Linked DNA regions of Homo sapiens: region 1 is linked to region 2. The links are contacts of gene promoters, found by promoter capture Hi-C in blood cells and fetal thymus (Javierre and others, 2016). All regions are on one chromosome and are shown on one strand. Each heading gives the region's core, a stretch centred on a gene start or on the middle of the fragment in contact. The rest is flanking DNA. Distances are from core to core; before and after follow the strand shown.

Region 1 (4,990 bases), core at 1,146-3,645, 400 kb before region 2:
GGAATTATAGGGCCCTGCTGCTCCAAAAAGATAGGATCTGAGTCAACAAGAAAGAGAAACAAGGACAACATATTTTGAACTCCTGACTAGCTTGGCGTATGGTTCTCAGCCCAGCCACACATTAGAACCAACTGTGGGGCTTTTAAAAAATGCCCAGTATCTGGACTCCACTGTAGTAGATTTAAATTCAGTTGAGGAGGAGCCAGGGCATCTGTTTTTTTTCTTAAGTATTTCAAGTGTGGAGAACCATTGGCTGCTCAAATAAGTGGCCAGGCTCCACACCTGGTCCCAAGGTTTCCTAGTTGTGTGACCTTGGGCAAGTTACTCAACATCTGTAAACCTCCATTCCCTCAGCTGTAAAGCAGTACCTGCTGGCCAGGCATGGTGGCTCACACCTGTAATCCCAGCATTTTGAGAAGCCAAGATTGGAGGATCGTTCGAGCCCAGGAGTTCAAGACCAACCTAGGCAACATAGCAAGATCTCATCTCTATAAAAAAAGAAAAACAGTACTTGCTTAATGGAGTTGTGGGAAGGATTAAATGAAAGAATGCATGTCAGTGCCTGGCATTGAGCCTAGCACGTAGTTGTGTTCAGAATGTTATTCTTATTGCTGGAACAGCAGTTCTTACCTCTCTAGAATCCAGGTTTAAAGGTATATAAGTAAGAAAGTGCCGTTTCCAGTAACCAGGGACCAAGACCTGTCCTTTTCCCAGAGTGGGGTTGAAGAGTGTTAGTCAGAGCCAGGGTCAAAGATTGCTTAGGTCCTGGTATTGGCACTCAACTTTGGTTACTCTTAACATTCTAGTCCCGCACTGTCCATTCTGAAATAACGAAAATATTCTATATTTGTGCTGACAACATAGTAGTCACTAGCCACATGGGGCTATTTAACACTTGAGATGTGGCCCATGTTGGCTGGGTGCGGTGGCTCACGCCTGTAATCCCAGCACTTTGGGAGGCTGAGGTGGGCAGATCACCTGAGGTCGAGAGTTCGAGACCAGCCTGACCAACATGGAGAAACCCCGTCTCTACTAAAAATACAAAATTAGTCGGGCACAGTGGCGCATGCCTGTAATCCCAGCTACTCGGGAGGCTGAGGCAGGAGAATCGCTTGAACTTGGGAGGCGGAGGTTGCAGTGAGCCAAAATCACGGCATTGCACTCCAGGCTGGTTTACAGAGTAAGACTGTCTCAAAAAAAGGCAAAAGAAAAAAGAAATGTGGCCCATGTGACTGGGGAACTGAATAATTTTATTTAATTATAACTCATTTAAAGTCAAACAGCTACACATGGCTGATGGCTACAGAATTGGAAAATGTAGCTCTAGGCTGGGCATGGTGGTGCACACCTGTAATCCCAGCACTTTGAGAGGCCGAGGCAGGCAGACTGTTTGAGCCAAGGAGTTCAAGACCAGCCTGGGCAACATGGTGAAAAGCCGTCTCTACAAAAAAAAATACAAAAAAATTTGCCAGGCGTGGTGGTGCGCACCTGTAGTCCCAGCTACTCAGGAGGCTGAAGTGGGAGGATGGCTTGAACCCAGCAGGCAGAGCAGTGAGCTGAGATTGCACTACTGCATTCCAGCCTGTGCAACAGGGCAAGACTTTGTCTCAAAAACAAACAAACAAACAAAAAACAAAAGAAAGAAAGAAAGAAAGAAACAAAGAAAAAGAAAAGAAACGAAAATGTAGCTCCGGACATGTATGTGCATTGAACATGGGAGTAAATAAAGATATAAAATTTTGAAACATAGTGTGACCAAGCATTTTCCCTTCTATTGTCTCATTTGAGCCTCAGAAAGTCCTATAAAGGAGATATGACAGGCACTAACAGCCCTATTATAGATTAGGGATGTTAAAAGACCTTCCCCAGATCACAAAGAGCATTAGAGGCACAGACAAGCCTAGAGGGAGGCAGACTTCTGGACTTCAAACCGATGCTTCTTTCTTTCATCAGTTACAAAAGCTTTCTCTTCACGGAAGCACCTCACATCAGCCCTCCAGCTCCTGTGAAGGTCTCAGTGCCCTGGGTGGACCCCAGGCCCCCATCTCCTCCCACTATCCGCTGTGCTACCTACCTGGAAGAGCTCCTGAACTTGAGCATCCACCCATTGCTCCATCTCCAGCCAGCGCTGGAGCTGGCCCCGGTCATACTTCACTGTCAGGCGGCTGGGTCTCCGGGACCTGGGTATCTTGGAGGAGTCCGGGTGGGACTTGGACTCTGAGTCTGTGGATGATGTCCTTCTCCTCCCAGAAGCCCAGTGGACCTTCTTACATGGGTTCTCCCCATCTGGGCTGGGAGATGTGCAGGAAGCAGGGCTTGAAGACAGCATGGAAGTATTGGTCTGGGCAAGGAGCTGGGAAAAACCGCCAGTTCTGAGCAGAGCCACAGAGGGAAGTGAGGAGACAGAGAACAGGAGAGGCCAGCAGAGAAGAAATGAAGGCAGGAGGAGGGCCAAGGCTCCCAGGGAGGGGCAAGGGCAAAGATCAATAGGACTTTGGTGCTGGGAATGCCAGTCTCCTGGCTCCTCACTGCCAGCCAGTGAGTGGCACTCCAGAGCCATGCCCCAGCCTCCCTTTCTGCAGCTTCTAGGGCCCAAAGTGGCATAAACTGCAGATGAGCAAAGGTCAAGAGGCTGCCATGCCCAGGGAGGAGGAAGGGGCCCTGGGGTCCTGAAGGGTACAGGGCTCCAATCGCTGCTCTATGGCCAGCTCTGGAATGGGACCTGAGTCGTTCTCACCTGAGATCCCTCTGTATCCCACCTTCCTGGGGCTGGATCCACTCTGGGCTCTGAGAAGCTGTGGTCAGATTCCGCAGAAGCAGGGTCCCTGGCTGGCAGGGATTCTTACTCAGAGCGTAGCACTACTGGGGGCAGAGCCCCAGCTGGTAGATAGAGTTGGAGGTCAGTTATTGATGGCTCCCGTAGGACCAGTGCCCCCAGTGTCTGGGTGTGTCCGAATGTAAACTGCTATCAGCCTGGCCTATAAAGGCAGTTTACCTGCTTGTAAAGGCAAATTTATCAAGACTTGTCTACTATGCCCGCTCCCCTGAGGCAACTGCTTAGGAAGCCATGTTTATTACCACGTGACCCTCCCCCGATTCATGTATTTGCTGACACAGAGGAAACCTGCAAACCTAACTTATACACAGGTGTCAGGGACTAATACTTCCAGGCATACATACTTGCATTCTAAGGCAGGGTATTTTTGTTTAGTCTTTTATAATGAAAATTTCTAAACTTTAAAAAAAAAAAGTGACAGAAGAACACTGTAATTTTTTTTTTTTTTTTTTTGAGATGGAGTCTCGCACTGTCACCCAGGCTGGGGGGCAATGCTGCGATCTTGGCTCACTGCAACATCCGCCTCCCAAGTTCAAGCAATTCTCCTGCCTCAGCCTCCCAAGAAGCTGGGATTACAGGCGCCCACCACCATGCCCGGATAATTTTTTGTATTTTTAGTAGAGACGAGGTTTCACTATGTTGCCCAGGCTGGTCTCAAATGCCTGACCTCATGATCCACCCGCCTCGGCCTCCCAAAGTGGTGGGATTACTGGAGTGAGCCACCGTGCCCAGCCTGTAATTTTTTTAAAATGGGGCCAGGCATGGTGGCTCACGCCTGTAATCCCAGCACTCTGGGAGGCCGAGGCGCGTGGATTGCTTGAGCTCAGGAGTTCAAGACCAGCCTGGGCAAAATGGTGAAATTCTCTCTCTACCAAAAAAAAAAATAATAATAATACAAAAAATTAGCTGCTTTGGGAGACCCAGGCGGGAAGATTGCTTGAGGCCAGTAGTTCAAGACCAGTCCGGGCAACACAGTGAGATCTTGTCTCCATTAAAAAATGTAAACAATGGGCCAGGCACGGTGGCTCATGCCTGTAATCCCAGCACTTTGGGAGGCTGAGGTGGACAGATGACTTGAGGTCAGGAGTTTGAGATCAGCCTGGCCAACATGGCAAAACCCTGTCTCTACTAAAAATACAAAAATTAGCCGGGCGTGGTGGCACACGTCTGTAGCCCCAACTATTCAGGAGGCTGAGGGAGGAGAATCGCCTGGGCCCAGGAGGCGGAGGTTGCAGTGAGCCGAGATCATGCCACTGCACTCCAGCCTGGGTGACAGAGCAAGACCCCGTCTCAAAAAAAAAAAAAAAAAAAAAGTAAAAAATGAAAAGCAAGATTACTCAGATATGGTGGTGCACACCTGTCATCCTAGCTGCTTGGAAGGTGGGAAAATCACTTCAGCCCAGGAGTTCAAGGCTACAGTGAGCTACAATGGCAACACTGCACTTAAGCATGGGTGACAGAGCAAGACCCTGTCTCAAAAAAGGAAAAAGGCGAATGGATGACAGTTTAATGATGAAATTTTAGGCCCTCACTTAAGAAGATAAGGGAGGTGTTTGAGTGGCTGGAAACTAAGATGGCAGCCAGGAAAAGCCCAGGCTTTGGAGGAAGGCTGACAATCTGAGTTCAACTCAGCTTTGCCCTGCATTGGTTTTATAATCCTTGGCCAAGTTTCATAGCCTGTTTTCACATCTGCAGATTGGGCTTGTTGGGAAGATAAAATGAGATGATGCATGTAAACATTTAGCATGGCATCTGAAACAGAGTCCCTGTCAGTAGACATTCATTCCTGTCCTTTATTTACCTCCCCACTCTCCCTGCCCTCCTGGCGAGGCTCTGGTGGTCAATGCCTGGGCTTTCATCAGTGTGGCTCTCTTCCTGAGCAGGAGGAGGGGGGCCTCTAGGATGCATCTTGTTGACTCAGCTGTCACTTTAACAGTCTGTGGCCAGGAGGCATTATTATGGTAGTTCCCTGCCTCTTCTGTTTCCTATCTTCTGAAGGGTTTGAGAGCCCTTTCGGGAAAAGAAACTAGATGAGAAGAGTCACTGTGTTTTGTTCATTTATTTACTCACTCATTTAACAAAGATTTTATGAGCTCCCCTGGTAGGCCAAACATTATGCTCAGTGGTTATTCAAGAGCCACAGGATGGGCACGG
Region 2 (4,693 bases), core at 1,399-3,898:
AATTTTTTAAAAGTTAATTTAGAACTATTCTGTTATTTAGATGTCCTTGTATTTAGAAACTTAGATAAGTATTCTTCTATAGTTTTTTAAATTTAAAAGCTGTATACTTTTGCCACACTAGGAAAATTCAACCAGTGAATTTTGCAATTTAACCATAAAAACATTGATGAAATAACTAGAGCCTAAGTCAACTAGGAAGAAGGTGAGATGTTACATACAATTTTCGGTCAAATAAATAACCTATATTTTTACATTTTAAGGTCTATCAAGTGCTTATACAAATATTACTTGATATAACAACCATAACCTAATTTACAAATGAAGAAACTGAAGTTTAGAAGGTTAAGACACCTGCCCAAAGTCACACAGCTAGAAGGTAATGCAATCTGAACTAAGACCAGGCCTCTAGGGTAGGATGTTTGTAGTTTAGTGCAAGACCAAGTCTTATGCATCCAAACAGAACATAAAACAAGTCATCAGAGAGTCTAAGAAAAACCATTCTTTAAGTTAATCCAACAGGCAAAAGGAGAATTTTTAAAGAAAAATACATAAAACTGGAAAAAGAAAACAGCCCTTAATAGAGGCAAACATTATTTTTATTTTATTTTTGAGATGGAGTCTCACTCTGTCGCCAGGCTGGAGTGCAGTACCGCTATCTTGGCTCACTGCAACCTCTGCCTCCCGGGTTCAAGCAATTTATACTTTTAAAAGGTACCCAAGAAAGGAAAGTTTGTGAAACACCTGGAAAATAAGAGAATTAGAGAAACATTAAAGAAAAAAAAATTAAAGTCAGAAAAAAATACTAACATGAAGCAAAGAAAGCTTTGACTGGAGACAGCTGCAAACACTAAGATTCAAGATTAGGAAGGAAAAAAGTAAGGTCAGCATCAAGAGATGGGCTTCAAGGCTGACTGAGAAAAGGGACATTCATGGGGCTGACAAAATTTTCCTATCACAGCCATATTCCAACATACAAAGCAGCTCCAGTGATTTAGCTCTTAGACGGGCATATCCAAAATGTTACTGAGTACAAAGGACAACATCACTAGGTTAGACAAGTGCACGACAATCATAAAAATAACTCTAAGGCCGGGCACGGGGACTCACGCCTGTAATCCCAACACTTTGGGAGGCCGAGGCGGGTGGATCACCTGAGTTCTGGAGTTTGAGACCCGCCTAGACAATATGGTGAAACCCTGTCTCTACTAAAAATACAAAAATTAGCTGGGCGTGGTGGCACGCGCCTGTAATCCCAGCTACTCAGGAGGCTGAGGCATGATAATCCCTTGAACCCGCCTGGAGGTTGCAGTGAGCCGAAAATGCACAGTGATCAGGCCATTGCACTCCAGCCCGGACTCTGTCGCAAAAAAACAAAACAAGCCAGGTGCGGTGGCTCACGCCTGTAATCACAGCACTTTGGGAGGCTGAAGCGGGCAGATCACCTGAGATACGGAGTTCGAGACCAGCCTGACCAACATGGAGAAGCCCTGTCTCTACTAAAAATACAAAATTAGCTGGACACGGTGGCGCATGCCTGTAACCCCAGCTACTAGGGAGTCTGAGGCAGGAGAATCGCTTGAACCCGGGAGGCGGAAGTTTCGGTGAGCTGAGATGGCGCCTTTGCACTTCAGCCTGGGCAGAAGAGCAAAAACTCCGTCTCAAACAACAACAACAACAACAAACAAACAAAACTCTAGTTCTTCAAACTAGAACCTCAGCTTGCAGGGAACGTGTGGGGCCTCAGGCTAAGCTGTAAAGCCTTAGGTAACACTTAAAACTAGTAACTTAAGTTGACCTGGGAAAGCCTGCTACGACAAAAATATCCTGGTACTTGGGTACTAACAGCAGTCAGAATTCGGTTCTTCCTTATCTTATACGTGTTCTAACCAAACAGGTGTGAAGGGGTAAGGCAGGTGAAGCAGTAAGAACTGGTTCACCTGAGAGTAGGCACTAATTTAACGGGTGGCTTTTACCTTTTTTTTTTTTTTTTTTTGAGACGGAGTCTTGCTCTGTCACCCAGGCTGGAGAGCAATGCCGCGATCTCGGCTCACTGCAACCTCCGCCTCCCGGGTTCAAGCGATTCTCCTGCCTCAGCCTCCCGAGTAGCTGGGATTACAGGCACGCGGCACCACACCCGGATAATTTTGTATTTTTATTAGAGATGGGGTTTCTCCATATTGGTCAGGCTGGTCTCGAACTCACGACCTCAGGTGTTCTGCCCACCTCGGCCTCCCAAAGTGCTGGGATTACAGGCGTGAGCCACCGTGCCAGGCCTACCTTTTTAATCAAAACAAACAATACACCATGAGAATAAAATGCAAAATTTCTCATTTTTAAGACAAAATAAGGAACTTCAAATAAATGGCGGACCATAAGCTAGGAATTCACTGTCCTCCATCGTTAGGGCTTTTTCCTCCGAAGGAAGTTTGGGAAATCTGGATCCTAATTTCAGCCAAGTGGTGCGTTCCTCGAACTTCAGTCTAGAACTAAAAGAAGAGGGGCTGCAATGAAGGAAGAAGTCTCGGGACGCTCCACGCCACCCGGCGGCGGTTATCAAATCACAGGCTGAAAACCTGGAGAAAGGTCCGCGACGCCGGGGACACACGCCGCAGAGGCGACGCCCGCCCGGCCCAACGTCCAGTCTCGTCTGTTTCCCGAGGAGCCAATCAGCACGCGGCCCCGAGGCCGGCTCCCCAGCGCCCCCTGCGGCCGGGAGGAGGACGGCAGCCAGGAAAGATGAAGAGCGCGTGCAGTCCCCGAAGGGTACACCCTAGGGTTCCCCCCCACGCGAAGTTTCTCTCCGCAATCCGTGCCACCTATCGAGTAGGATTCCTAGTGTTCGATTCCTGTGAGAAAAGGTAGACTACGCTGCCTGTCGCAGGTTAGTTTGTTGTAAAACTGTTGGTCAATGACGTTGCCCTTTTAATTGCGTCGTTAGCGACCGAGTGGCATCGCCCCTTTAAGGCCGGTGGCAGCTGCGGTTCCGGGGGCGGGGTCCGTCTTCAGCAGGACTTGGGCTGGAGCTGGGCTGATTCATTCGGGGCTGGAACTCGAACGCTGACGTTGGCTCCTGAGCCGGGCGCTGCCTCGCGCCTGATTGGCGGGTCCTCGGGGCCGCCCTCCCCAGCGCACCACCCCTGGGTTCCCTCCCGGGTCCGCAGTGGAAACACTGCCCTCTCCCTTCTTGACCCCTAGCCCTTCCTTCCCTCCCTCCTTCCCTCCTGTCGCCGTCTCTTCTGGCGCCGCTGCTCCCGGAGGAGCTCCCGGCACGGCGATGGGTTCTCGGGCCTCCACGTTACTGCGGGACGAAGAGCTCGAGGAGATCAAGAAGGAGACCGGCTGTGAGTTCGGGTTGGGGGTGGGAACGCCGGGCGCCTCAGGCTGGCCTCACAACCAAGGGCGGCTGTCGCTAAGGTCTGGAGCTCGGGTGCCTGTGAGGTTGGGGGGTCCTGGGCAGCCTCCAGGTTTGGGGACCGAGAGCTGGAAGACCTGTTCTTCCAGCTGCAGCTTCCTGGAGCGGGGCTCTAGCTACTGTGGGGCTGTCCTTCCCTTCAAAATCGGGACTCTTGATCACTCGTAGAGCGTCGACGCCCCCCTTTTCTGCACCCTGCCCATCAAAGTCCCCGAACTCCTTTCCTTTCTGTTGCCTCGCACCACCCTTCCCTATGAAGAGGCATCCTGAACAGTAGGTAAAGCCCGAGAAGCAAATTCAGGAACTCGAGATGGATTCTGTAGAAAATCCGTTTCTGGGTAAGGACCTAAAACCTCTGACAACTATGGGAAATTACAAACAAGTTCTTGTCACAAATTGGGAAAACCACCCAGAAAGCAAGACCGTGTAGTAAGGCTTTGGGAGACATGACCCGATGCCTGGAGACCTTTAAACAATCAGGGGTCTGGGATTGTGAGACTTCTTTCAATCTGAACTTCTAGAGAAAAAACACGGATACTGTGACCACCAGTTTTTTACTTACACGACGATACTTGCTGTCCTAATCTCATATATGTATTGATTTCTACTATGCTGGTGTACTTTTTTATTCGCTATTGAAATTGGATGTGCTCCAAAAATCTCCGTGTGAATTTGTACTAGGAACTGATTTTTTTTTTTTTTTTTTTTGAAACGGAGTCTCCCTCTGTCAACCAGGCTGGAGTGCAGTGGCGTGATCTCGGCACACTGCAACTTCCGCCTCCCAGGTTCAAGCAGTTCTCCTGCCTCAGCCTCCCAGGTAGCTGGGAGTACAGGTGCCTGCCACCACGCTTGGCTAATTTTTGTATTTTTGGTAGAGATGGGGTTTCACTATGTTGGCCCGGCTGGCCTCGAACTCCTGACCTCAAGTGATCCACCCACCTCGGCCTCCCAAAGTGCTGGGATTACAGGTGTGAGCCACCGTGCCCTGCAGAACTGATTTTTTTTTTTATAGTCCAGTCTCTTCCTCATTAGTCTGAACAAAGGAGCAAAAGGACTCGGGATTCTGAAGCGCTGTAAAATACCATCATAACTTTGAATAGTCCTTGATAATGCAATGTATGATACAATTGTATTGATGCATACAATATTTTATCTTTTCAGTAAACCTTTATGATTCTTATTGAGTTAATGAAGGATGTAGCACCTGAGCTCTGTCTCTTCATCATACTTGTCTTTGATAATGACATGACCAGTAACTCACTCCGGCCCATATGCAGATAG

Evidence for each region. Contacts are between HindIII fragments. The CHiCAGO score rates a contact against its expected background, and 5 or more counts as called.
Region 1: the fragment with the promoter of PPP1R14D here is called in contact with the fragment with the promoter of EXD1 in region 2 in 6 of 17 cell types (M1 macrophages, endothelial precursors, naive CD8 T cells and 3 more); the score reaches 6.1 in M1 macrophages.

The regions. Positions count from the first base shown.
Region 1 is chr15:40,826,313-40,831,302 of GRCh38, forward strand. It overlaps PPP1R14D (protein phosphatase 1 regulatory inhibitor subunit 14D), which reads right to left and starts at 2,396. Exons shown (of 4, transcript NM_017726.8): 1 at 2,075-2,396. The coding sequence starts at 2,329. RefSeq lists an enhancer at 1-193 and a silencer at 1-193. The HindIII fragment of the contact is 4,675 bases long and covers 1,961-4,990 here.
Region 2 is chr15:41,228,109-41,232,801 of GRCh38, forward strand. It overlaps EXD1 (exonuclease 3'-5' domain containing 1), which reads right to left and starts at 2,649. Exons shown (of 12, transcript NM_001286441.2): 1 at 2,371-2,649. CHP1 (calcineurin like EF-hand protein 1) reads left to right here and starts at 3,160. Exons shown (of 7, transcript NM_007236.5): 1 at 3,160-3,341. The coding sequence starts at 3,275. RefSeq lists a silencer at 2,674-2,733 and enhancers at 2,854-2,923, 2,944-3,003. The HindIII fragment of the contact is 6,181 bases long and covers 821-4,693 here.